Regions from separate parts of the Homo sapiens genome. Here region 2 is linked to region 1. The links are contacts of gene promoters, found by promoter capture Hi-C in human tissues and cell types (Jung and others, 2019). All regions are on one chromosome and are shown on one strand. Each heading gives the region's core, a stretch centred on a gene start or on the middle of the fragment in contact. The rest is flanking DNA. Distances are from core to core; before and after follow the strand shown. Region 1 holds the start of OR10H2 (olfactory receptor family 10 subfamily H member 2). Region 2 holds the start of USE1 (unconventional SNARE in the ER 1).

What was found. The method cuts DNA at HindIII sites, captures the fragments that hold promoters and counts their contacts. A contact is called where the count stands out against the background at its distance.
Region 2: a contact is called between the fragment with the promoter of USE1 here and the fragment with the promoter of OR10H2 in region 1, in 1 of the 25 tissues and cell types used here (lymphoblastoid cells).

The regions. Positions count from the first base shown.
Region 1 is chr19:15,725,563-15,731,425 of GRCh38, forward strand. It overlaps OR10H2 (olfactory receptor family 10 subfamily H member 2), which reads left to right and starts at 2,462. Exons shown (of 1, transcript NM_013939.2): 1 at 2,462-3,490. The coding sequence starts at 2,482. The coding sequence ends at 3,429. The HindIII fragment of the contact is 21,841 bases long and covers 1-5,863 here.
Region 2 is chr19:17,211,599-17,217,461 of GRCh38, forward strand. It overlaps USE1 (unconventional SNARE in the ER 1), which reads left to right and starts at 3,759. Exons shown (of 8, transcript NM_018467.4): 1 at 3,759-3,909; 2 at 4,204-4,253; 3 at 4,394-4,472; 4 at 4,571-4,723; 5 at 5,855-5,863. The coding sequence starts at 3,808. MYO9B (myosin IXB) reads left to right here. Exons shown (of 40, transcript NM_004145.4): 39 at 49-176; 40 at 297-1,688. The coding sequence ends at 712. RefSeq lists enhancers at 3,399-3,979, 3,743-4,062 and a silencer at 4,083-4,152. The HindIII fragment of the contact is 58,541 bases long and covers 1-5,863 here.

The DNA of each region.
Region 1 (5,863 bases), core at 1,212-3,711:
CTATTTTAGTTTTTGGGAAACTTCCATACTGTTCTCCATAGTGGCTGTACTAATTTACATCGCCACCAACAGTGTATGAGGATTCCCTTTTCTCTGTGTTCTCACCTGGATTCTCTATCTTTTGGACAAAGCTATTTATTGTCTTCTATCTTTTAGATAAAAGCTGTTTTAACTGGCATGAGCTTTCAAAAATTTAGATTAAATTTATTTAACCTGAAATTATCCTTTAAATATTTTAAAGTGGACAATCAGTGGCATTTAGTACATTAACATGTTGTGCAGCTACTACCTCTAGTTACAAGACATTGTCACCATTCCAAAAAGAACTTCATATCCATTCATCAGTCATTCCCCATCCCACGCTAGCCCCATTCCCTGACAACCACACATCTGCTTTCTTTCTCAGTGGATTTAACTATTCTGGACATTTCTTATAAATGGAATTATATACTATGTGGCCTTTTGTGTCTGGCTTCCTTCACTCAGCCTCATGTTCTCAAAGTGCATCCACGCTGTTGCATGTATCACTGATTCAATCTTTGCGTGGTTGCATAATATTTCATTGTGTGGTCGGACCACATTTTGTTTATCCATTCATTCATTGATCCAGTTTGCATTGTAACATAAACTTTTGTATTTTGCATCTAGCCTGTTTGCAGACTGGCAAGAAAGAGAGTGGGAGAGGAGTCACAGCCTCCTAGTTTAGTTTGTTGGGGAACTTCCATAAACTAAATAAAGTAGAAGGGCTCCTATTGGTGCAGGGAGGAGAGCTGCCCTGGCAGAGAAATTGGGCAGATCTGACTCTGTGGCCACTCAGGGAAGGTGATGAGAGAAGCCATGGCTGATAGCCTAGGTTTTTGCTGTTAGGTTTGGGATTGGAGGATTGGGGTTGGGGTCAAAAAGAGGAGGAGACCAGCAGAGTCACGTAGTGGAAGCATGCTGGGCCCATAGCCTAGAGGTCAGTGGACCATAACCATTTTCTGCTAAGAAGTTTTTGACTGGGCATGGTGGCTCACACCTATAAATCCCAGCACTTTGGGAAGCTGAGGCAGGCTGATCACTTGAACTCAGAAGTTCAAGACCAGCCCGAGCAACATGGTTAAACCCCATCTCTACTAAAAATACAAAAATTAGCCAGGTGTGGTGATGCGGGCCTGTAATCCCAGCTACTCAGGAGGCGGAGGCAGGAGAATTGCTTGAACCCAGGAGGCGGAGGTTGCAGTGAGCCGAGATCATGCCACTGCATTCCAGCAGGGACAGAGTGAGACTCTGTCTCAAAGAAAAAAAAAAAAAAAAGCGGAATTGTGATAGAGAAAGAGTAATTCACACAGAGCTGGCTCTGCAGGGGACTGGAGTTTTATTATTACTCAAATCAGTCTCCCTGAGCACTTGGGGAGCAGAGTTTTTAAGGACAACTTGGTGGGTGGAGGGGAAGCCAGTGAGCCAGCAGTGCTGATTGGTCAGAGATGAAATCAAAGCTGTCTTCTTGCGGAGAGTCAGTTCCTGGGTGGGGGCCACAAGATCAGTTGAGCCAGTTTATCGACCTGGGTGGTGCCAGCTGATCCATCAAGTGCAGGATCTGCAAAATATCTCAAGCACTGATCTTGGGAGCAATTTAGGGAGGGTCAGAATCTTGTAGCCTCCAGCTGCATGACTCCTAAACCATAATTTCTAATCTTGTGGCTAATGTTAGTTCTACAAAGGCAATCTAATCCCCAGACAAGAAGGAGGTCTGCTTTGGGAAAGGGCTGTTATCGTCCTTGTTCCAAACTATAAACTATAAACTATAAACTAAATTTCCCCCAAAGTTAGTTCACCCTATGTCCTGGAATGAACAAGGACAGCTTGGAGGTTAGAAGCAAGATGGAGTTGGTTAAGTTAGATCTCTTTCGCTGTCTCAGTCATAATTTTGCAAAGGTGGTTTCAATTTTCCAGGGGAGCAATGAGGCTCAGAGAGGGGAAGCAACCTGCCCTGCATCTCACAGCTAGAAAGCAGTGGTGCCGAGAATTAAACAGAGTCTGGACGTTTCCATGACATAGGGAAGAGATGACTTCCAGCTGAAGGTGGCAATCAGGGAGCAGCTTGCTCATAAAATTCAGGTAGGATTTGGACCCATAAAGATAGGGAAAAGCATGAAAAGACCAGCATGAACAAAGGCAGAAAAGCAAGGTGTAGGTGGTGGTGCATGGATCTAATAATCGTGATGGCAATAACAATAGCAGAATAATTATTACTATCAACATTTATAATTTATTAAATTCTTACTTTGTGTCAGGACCTGCACAAAGCACTTAAGGTGAGTGATCTTATTTAAACCTCAATACATTATTATTAATGCCTTTCTGCAGATGGAGTAACCATGGCTTGGACAGATGAAGGAGGCGCTCTCAGATGTCCTCCCAGGCAGGAATCACTAGACACCCCCATGCTCCTAACCACTGGGTCTTCTTTCCTCTCTTCCCCAACTAGGGGTGGCCGTCATGCTGGGGCTAAACCACACCTCCATGTCTGAATTCATCCTCGTCGGCTTCTCTGCCTTCCCCCACCTCCAACTGATGCTCTTCCTGCTGTTCCTGCTGATGTACCTGTTCACGCTGCTGGGCAACCTGCTCATCATGGCCACCGTCTGGAGCGAGCGCAGCCTCCACACGCCCATGTACCTCTTCCTGTGCGTCCTCTCAGTCTCCGAGATCCTCTACACCGTGGCCATCATCCCGCGCATGCTGGCCGACCTGCTGTCCACCCAGCGCTCCATCGCCTTCCTGGCCTGTGCCAGTCAGATGTTCTTCTCCTTCAGCTTCGGCTTCACCCACTCCTTCCTGCTCACCGTCATGGGCTACGACCGCTACGTGGCCATCTGCCACCCCCTGCGCTACAACGTGCTCATGAGCCCACGGGGCTGCGCCTGCCTGGTGGGCTGCTCCTGGGCTGGTGGCTCGGTCATGGGGATGGTGGTGACCTCGGCCATTTTCCAACTGACTTTCTGTGGATCCCATGAGATCCAGCATTTTTTATGTCATGTGCCACCTCTGTTGAAGTTGGCCTGTGGAAATAATGTACCAGCTGTGGCCCTGGGCGTGGGCTTGGTATGTATCATGGCACTGCTGGGCTGTTTTCTCCTCATCCTCCTCTCCTATGCCTTCATCGTGGCCGACATCTTGAAGATCCCTTCTGCTGAAGGTCGGAACAAGGCCTTCTCCACCTGTGCCTCTCACCTTATTGTGGTCATTGTGCACTATGGCTTTGCCTCTGTCATCTACCTCAAGCCCAAAGGTCCCCACTCTCAGGAGGGTGACACCCTGATGGCCACCACCTACGCAGTCCTCACGCCCTTCCTCAGCCCCATCATCTTCAGCCTCAGGAACAAAGAACTGAAGGTTGCCATGAAGAGGACCTTCCTCAGCACACTCTATTCCTCAGGCACCTGAGTAGCTGGTGTGGAAGTGCTGATAGAATATGATAGGAGGATGACCATCACCTTGTCTGCACAGTGTGGCTAGTAATGCTTACCTTGTAAGGCAGGTGTAAAGATTTCTGTATATGACAACACTCATCACATAGTAGGTGCTCAGTAAATGTTAAAAGCATGTTTACTTCCACAACTCTTGATCTGTATGTCTTTATCTGAGTTTTAATTTTTGAGTTATAGTAGCTTTATTAAGATGTAATTCACCTACCATACAATGTACCCATTAGAGCGCACATTTCTGTGGTTTTTGCGTATTCAGAGTTATGCAACCATCATGACAATCTGGCTTAGAGTATTTTAGTCATCCAAAAAAGAAACCCAAATCCTAGTGCTTTGGAAGGCTGAGTGGGAGAATTGTTTGATGTCAGGAATTCACGATCGGTCTGGACAACATAGTGAGATGCCATCTACACACACACACAAACACATACACACACACAAGTTCTTTTTTTTTTAATTTATTACACTTTAAGTTTTAGGGTACATATGCACTACGTACAGGTTAGTTACATACATATACATGTGCCATGTTGGTGTGCTGCACCCATTAACTTGTCATTTAACATTAGGTATATCTCCTAATGCTATCCCTCCCCACTCCCCCTACCCCACAACAGGCCCCAGTCTGTGATGTTCCCCTTCCTGACACACACAAAAATTCTGATAATTAGCTAAATGGGGTGGCACATTCCTGTAGCCCCAGCTACTCCAGAGGCTGATGTGGGAGGATTGCTTGCATCCAGGAGTTCGAGGCTGCAGTGAGCCATGATCACCACTGAACTCTGACTTGGGCAACAGAGCCAAACCTTGTCTCAAACAAACAAACAACCCATACTCATTATCAGTCACTCTCTGTTTCCTCCAAATCTCCATGCCCTCCAGCCCTAGGGAGCCACTAATCTTTCTGTCTGGTTAGAGTTGCTTTTTCTGGACGTTTCACATCAATGGACAACTGTAAATATAATTCTTTTATTTTCAGATGAATTGTTTCACTGAGCATAATGTTTTTGAAGTTCTCCTACATTGTAGCTTGTATCAGTACATCATCTTTTTTTTTTTTCAAGACAGAGTCTCACCCTGTCACCTAGGCTGGAGTGCAGTGGCATGATCTTGGCTCACTGCAACCTTCGCATCCCAGGTTCAAGTGATTCTCTTGCCTCAGCCTTCCAAATAGCTGGGATTACAGATGCCTGCCACCATGCCTGGCTAATTTTTGTATTTCAGTAGAGACGGGGTTTCACCATGTTGGCCAGGCTGGTCTTGAACACCTGACCTCAAACACTCCACCCACCTCGGCCTCCTAAAGTGCTGGGATTTCAGGCATGAACCACCGTGCCCAGCCAGTATATCATTTTGATTGCCAAATAATATTCCATTGTATGGAAACACTACATTTTATTTACCCATTTGTCATTGATGGACATTTCAGTGTTTCTAATTTTTGCTATTTTGAGTAATACTGCTATGAGTGATCAGTACAAGTGTTGCAATATATGCTTTCATTTCCTTGGGATATATACCTAGGAGTGAAATTGCTGGGTCAAGTGGTATTTCTATGTTTATTTTTTTAGGAACTTCCAAGCTGTTTCCTAAAGTCTATGCACCATTTTACATTCCCACCAGCAATGCTGCAGGGGTCTAGGTCTCTGCAACCTCACCAATACTTGTTACTGTCTTTTTGATCACAGCCATCTTCGTGGGTGTGAAGTGGTATCTCATTGTGGTTTTGATCTGCATTTCCCTAGTGAGTAAGGATGTTGAACATCTCATCATGTGCTTATTGGCTATTTAGATATGTTCTTGGAGAAATAGCTATTGAGATACTCCACCCATTTTCCAATTGGGTTGTTTGTATTTTTGTTGTTAAGTTGTAAGAATGCTTTATATTTTTAGTTAAGACTCTTTTATCTGATCTGTGATTTTCAGTTATTTCCTTATAGTTTGTGGGTTGTGTTTTCATGGTCTTTTTGGTGTCTTTCTGTAGCACAATAGATTTACATTTTGATAACATCAGTGTACCTATTTTTTTTTGTTGTTGCTTGTGCTTTTGGTGTCACATCTAAAAAAACATTGTATTGCTTTATCTAAGGTCATGAACATCTACGTTGCCTCATAAGAGTTTTGTAGTTTTAGCTCTTACATTTGGGTTTTTGATATATTTTGAGTGTCAAACTTTGTGTATGGTGTGAGGTAGGGGCCTAATCTTAGTTTTGGCTGGGTTCAGTGTGGTTGAATGAATCCTGTCTGTGAACTTCCATCAGTGACCTATGTCTGTGATTATATAAGTTTGTGAGGATGAGGAAATAATCATCACACACACACATGGCCCTAGGCAGACACATCATTCATACTGAATTAGTAAACACACTTCATTCCCAGCTACTAGGTTGCTT
Region 2 (5,863 bases), core at 2,509-5,008, 1.5 Mb after region 1:
GCACTTCCGGTGGGGTGGCCTTGGACACCACTACCCTTTTTCCTCCAGGGAGGACATCACCTACCGGCTGCCGGAGCTGGACCCAAGGGGCTCGGACGAGGAGAACCTGGACTCGGAGACGTCGGCCAGCACCGAGAGCCTGCTGGAGGAGCGGGCCGGGCGGGGGGCCTCGGAAGGTCAGTATTAAGGTAGCGTCTGCTTTTCTCCTTCCCGTCCATCCCAGCAGGCCCCAGGGCGAGGGTCCTCCGGCTGCCGGCCCTGAAGCTGCAGTAACCCTGCCATCTGTCTCTCAAAAGGGCCCCCTGCGCCTGCTCTCCCTTGCCCCGGCGCGCCCACCCCGAGCCCCCTCCCCACCGTGGCCGCCCCTCCACGACGAAGGCCGTCGTCCTTCGTAACGGTCAGAGTGAAGACCCCCCGGCGGACCCCCATCATGCCCACGGCCAACATCAAGCTCCCACCAGGCCTGCCCTCCCACCTGCCTCGCTGGGCACCGGGTGCCCGGGAGGCGGCTGCCCCAGTGCGGCGCCGGGAGCCACCTGCCCGCCGCCCGGACCAGATACATTCCGTGTACATCACGCCCGGGGCAGACCTGCCAGTGCAGGGCGCCCTGGAGCCCCTAGAAGAGGATGGCCAGCCACCTGGGGCCAAGCGGAGGTACTCGGATCCCCCAACGTACTGCCTGCCCCCCGCCTCGGGCCAGACCAATGGCTGAGAGCCACAGCTGACAAAGTCTGCATGTCCGAGGACGGCCCCTGCACTGGAGCTGGGCGCCAGAGCTGCAGAGCTAGTGTTCGGCCCTCAGAGAAGGATCCAGAATCAAAAGCTCAAGAGTGACGTGAGGTGGGCACCGGCCCCAAGTGCAGAGTCAAGGCAGGGAGAGGCCGGCTGGAGCCAGGCCCCCTCGCACGCAGCCCCCAAATCATGGACGCACCTGTGGGGAGCACCACATCTCCACCTGCGGCCTCACATCTCCCCACTCCCCTTTTTGTACGTTTAACTGTTTCTTTGTACGTGGTTTACGTAACTTTAAACTGTAACAGCCTTAATGGAAGACCAAATGGTTTTTTATATGTGTATGTACAAAGTTTTCTATTAACGCTGCCCGTCTCCCTTATAACCTGGACGTGAGCTGTCAGAGCAGAAGCCACTAGGCCACTGCGCGTCTGAGGCTCAGACCCTGCTGTGGTTGGCTTGGGGTGGCCAATGGGCTGGGACCCTCCATGAGAGTTTTGGACACTTGGGTCACCTGACCCGTGCCTCTCTGACACATGTCTCCGGGGGGCAGCCACCTGGCCAATGTGCATTTTTGCACATGCTGGAACCTTCCATGGGGGTCTGGGCTATTGGCTGGAGCCAGGACATGAGTCAGGGGCACCATGGACCTCACGTGCCAGGGAGACTTGAATGTGGCTGTCACTCTTCCGGACGCCAAGGGCTGCAGGAGGCTGCTTTTGGCACTACCCACCCCGTGTGACAGAATAGGAGCCAGCGACTCAGGACTGCTCACGGGTCAGGAGGGCAACGCCTGAAGTCAGACCTCCCTATAGGTCAACAGGGACAACCTGGGGATCTCTGGAGCAGGGCCCTCCTCTCTCAGGCTTGGCCCACTCCCCCAGACACCTGGACACGTGGCCACAAATCTGGGACAAGGGGCCCCCGCACAGCATGAAATAAAAAGTGCCTGAGAAGTGTGTGCATGGGACGCCTGCTCATATGGGATCGGGCTTGGAAGAACAGGGCCGGTGGGTGGGGGTCTGCCCTGTGGCCTCAGCCAAGAAGGGTGCAGAATATGGGTGGAACACTGTCCTCAAAGTTCTGTCTTGATCCTCCACCAAACAGGGAGCTCCCAGCAGAGCCTCACTTGGCCAGGAGCGCCTGCTGTCCTGGCAGCCCTCTCTGGCCTCCCTGATTCAGTGCCCAGCCTCTGGAGCCTAAATGTCAGCTGCAGCAGCCACCCATCCAGCAGAGGTGGCCAGTTCCTGGTGGGCCCAGCAGGACAGGAACAGATGGGCTCCCAGGCTGCCATCGGATGGGAGTCGTGGGAACTGGCTGGCTGGTATTGGTTGGGGCACCGTGAAGAACCCAAGTTCAGACAGCACATGCCAGAGGTTGAGGGGCTTCTCCAAGGCCACACAGTTGGGAGGGGCATGGCTGGGATTTAGACTCTGCCCTGCCAGCCTCTAGAGGCCCCTTTGATGGGCCCTGGGTTTGGTCTCCATTGTTTGTTGTGGGTTTTTTTCTTGAAACACGGTCTCGCTCTGTCACCCAGGCTGGAGTGCAGTGGCGCGATCTCGGCCCACTGCAGCCTCCACCTCTCGGGTTCAAGCGATTCTCCTGCCTCAGCCTCCCGAGTAGCTGGGATTACAGGCACGCACAACCAAGCCCAGCTAATTTTTGTGTTTTTTGATAGAGACAGGGTTTCACCATGTTGGCCAGGCTGCTCTCCAAACTCCTGACCTCCAGTGATCCATCCACCTCACCCTCCCAAAGTGCTGGGATTACAGGCGTGAGCCACCGCACCTGGCCCTCCATGGTATTTTCTTTTTTTTTTTTTTTTTTTGAGACGGAGTCTTGCTTTGTTGCCCAAGCTGGAGTGCAGTGGCACAATCTCGGCTCACTGCAACATCCACCTCCTGGGTTCAAGCGATTCTCCTGCCTCAGTCTCCCAAGTAGCTGGGATTACAGGCACCCACCATCACGCCCGGCTAATTTTTGTATTTTTAGTAGAGACGGGGTTTCACCATGTTGGCCAGGCTGGTCTCAAACTCCTGACCTCAGGTGATCCATCTGCCTCAGCCTCCCTAAGTGCTGGGATTACAGGTGTGAGCCACCGCACCTACCCGTCTATGATATTTTTCAAGGACATCAGGCCCACTGGTGTAACCAAGGTGCAGATGACCTAAGGTGTGGGAAAACATGAAGGCTGCATGCCAGGCCCTGGTTCCTGTGAAGCCCCCACCCTCATCCTGTCACTCCAGAAGAGAGGCACTGCAAGGCATAGGGGTACTCAGCTTCCAGGTACTGAGGTGGGCTGGGAAGGGGTTCTCCATGGGGGTCTGGGCGTTAGGGGGGACCCAGCCCCACCTTGCTCACTCTCAGGCAGAGCTGTCTCATGTGCCCCTTGAGGCAGGTACTGTCACACTGTCCATTTCCCGGGGGAAGAAGCGGATCCAGAAAAGTTAAACTCTCCCAGGGCCGAGGATGGAATCAGAGCTGGAGCTGTGACCTGGAAACCCATAACCACAATACAGATGAGCCCTGCTGAGGTGGGGGAAGCCTTGGATTCCTGAATCCCAGGCTACAGAAATCGGGAAGGGTGTGTGGACGTGAAATAGCTCCGACTGGGAAGAATCCAGGTAGGAGTGGGGTGCGGGGAGGTACTTTGAGCAGGCAAAACAGAACAAAAGGGCACACTGCACGCGGGTCTGACACCAGAAGACCCCGGTCGTCCTATCATTCCCGAAGGGTTAACATGCTCTCGAGGAAAAGCAAGTGATTCGCCTAAGTAAGAATGGGGTGGCGCCTCTCCTATTTTTTTAAAATAGAGATAGAGTAGCGCTATCTTGCCCGGGCTGGCCTCAAGCAATCCTTTCCCACCTCTGCCTCCTAAAATGCTGGCATTACAGCCCTGAGCCACCGCGCCCGGCCCAGCGCCCCGTCTCAAAACAAGATATTACTTCCGCTCCAAACAAAGATGGGCCAGCTAACGAGCGCGGGGGAAACATCCGCCCGGAAGGCCACTTGAAGGCACTTCCGCCCTCTCTTAACATGGAGCCGGCGGAAGGGGTGGTGTAGGGCCGGGCGATAATGGCGGCGTCGAGGCTGGAGCTAAACCTGGTGCGGCTGCTATCCCGCTGCGAGGCGATGGCAGCGGAGAAACGGGACCCGGACGAGTGGCGCCTGGAGAAGGTGAGGGGATCTCGCACTGCCGCGTAGAGCCCGACTCCCGGGGGGTGATTCCTAGGGTTGGAAGCCACCTGGCCCGACTCCCCGGCCCCAGTAGCCTCTCGGGCAGCGCCCTTTCCGGTCAGTCCCGCCACGTCCACCTGTAGCTTCCGCCCCCGTCCCTGGGACTCCGCCCCTCCCCCACTGGCCCCGCCTCCTTTACGCTTGACCCCTCCCATTTGTCGGCCCCGCCCCCCCGACTCCCATGATCAGGACATGGGAAAGACCCCCGGGTGACAATCCACTTTTCCTCCCCAGTACGTGGGAGCCCTAGAGGACATGTTGCAGGCCCTGAAGGTCCACGCGAGGTGAGTGCAGGCAGCCTCAGGGCTTTCACATCAGCACGTGGCTGTGCTACTGGACATCCCAGTACCGCTATCCCAGCTGGGACCCTTCCCTGAGCTGGGGACCATGGACAGGTTTTGTTTTTCTTCTTCCTGCCTTCCAGCAAACCGGCCTCTGAGGTGATCAATGAATATTCCTGGAAGGTGGATTTTCTGAAGGGGATGCTGCAAGCCGAGAAGCTGGTGAGAAGGGGTGCCCCTGCCCCCTCAGCCCCCATCACCGCTCACTTTGGTCCCCAGGACCTGCCCCTCCAGTGACTTATCTTCCCACATTTCTGCAGACCTCCTCCTCAGAGAAAGCACTGGCCAACCAGTTCCTGGCCCCTGGCCGTGTGCCAACCACAGCCAGAGAGCGAGTGCCCGCCACAAAGACGGTGCATCTGCAGTCACGGGCGCGGTACACCAGCGAGATGCGGAGTGAGCTACTAGGCACGGTAGGGCTCCTTCCCTGGTCCCTGGGAATCCCTTGGACAGGAATAGGGGTTCTATGCTTGTAGGCAGCCAGAACCACAATACTGTCAGATACAGGAACCCTAAGGGGGTCCAGCAATCTCTTCCCTGGGTCATCACACAAGGCTGCCCAACAGAGGGGCATTGTGGCTAAGGCTTTGCTAGATGAATAGGAATTTGGTACAAGGCAAAAATGGAATGTGTCTGGTTAAGCCCCAGAGTTGGCCCAAGAGCAGGGTTTGAGTCCTGGCTTGCAACTTACAAGACACATAAGTTTCTTCAGCCGTAAAAGAGGATGACAAGTTCCTTTCTGAGCACTTTATGTGGATCAGCTCAATCTTTTAAAATATGAGTTGTTGTGGCCAGGTGCGGCAGCTCACGCCTGTAATCCCAGCACTTTGGGAGGCCGAGGCGGGCGGATCATTTGAGGTCAGGAGTTAAGACCAGCCTGACCAACATGGAGAAACCCCGTCTTTAGTAAAAATACAAAATTAGCTGGGCATGGTGGCTCACGCCTGTAATCCCAGCTACTCGGGAGGCTGAGGCAGGAGAATCGCTTGAACCCAGGAGGCAGAGGTTGCGGTGAGCTGAGATCAAGCCATTGCACTCCAGCCTGGGCAATAAGAGTGAAACTCCGTCTCAAAAAAAAAAAATATGAGTTGTCGTTACCAGTTTAAGGTTGAGGAAACAGGCTCAGAGGTCATGGGATTTCCCCATGTCCTGACTGAAGGTGAGGAGGTTGAGGTCAGAAGGGACAGGTTTGGGAACAAGACAAGGGGGGTGACTTCATGGCATTTACTTTTTTTTTTTTTTTTGCGATGGAGATTCGCTCTTGTTGCCCAGGCTAGAGTGTGGTGGCGCGATCTCGGCTCACTGCAACCTCCGCCTCCCAGGTTCAAGCAATACTCCTGCCTCAGCCTCCCAAGTCACTAGGATCACAGGCACCCCCACCACACCTGGCTAACTTTTTGTATTTTTAGTAGAGATGGAATTTCATTATGTTGGCCAGGCTGGTCTCGAACTTCTGACCTCAGGTGATCTGCCCACCTTGGCCTCCCAAAGTGCTGGGAGTGAGCCACTGCACCCAGCCTCATGCCACTTACTTCTTTCCACAGGACTCTGCA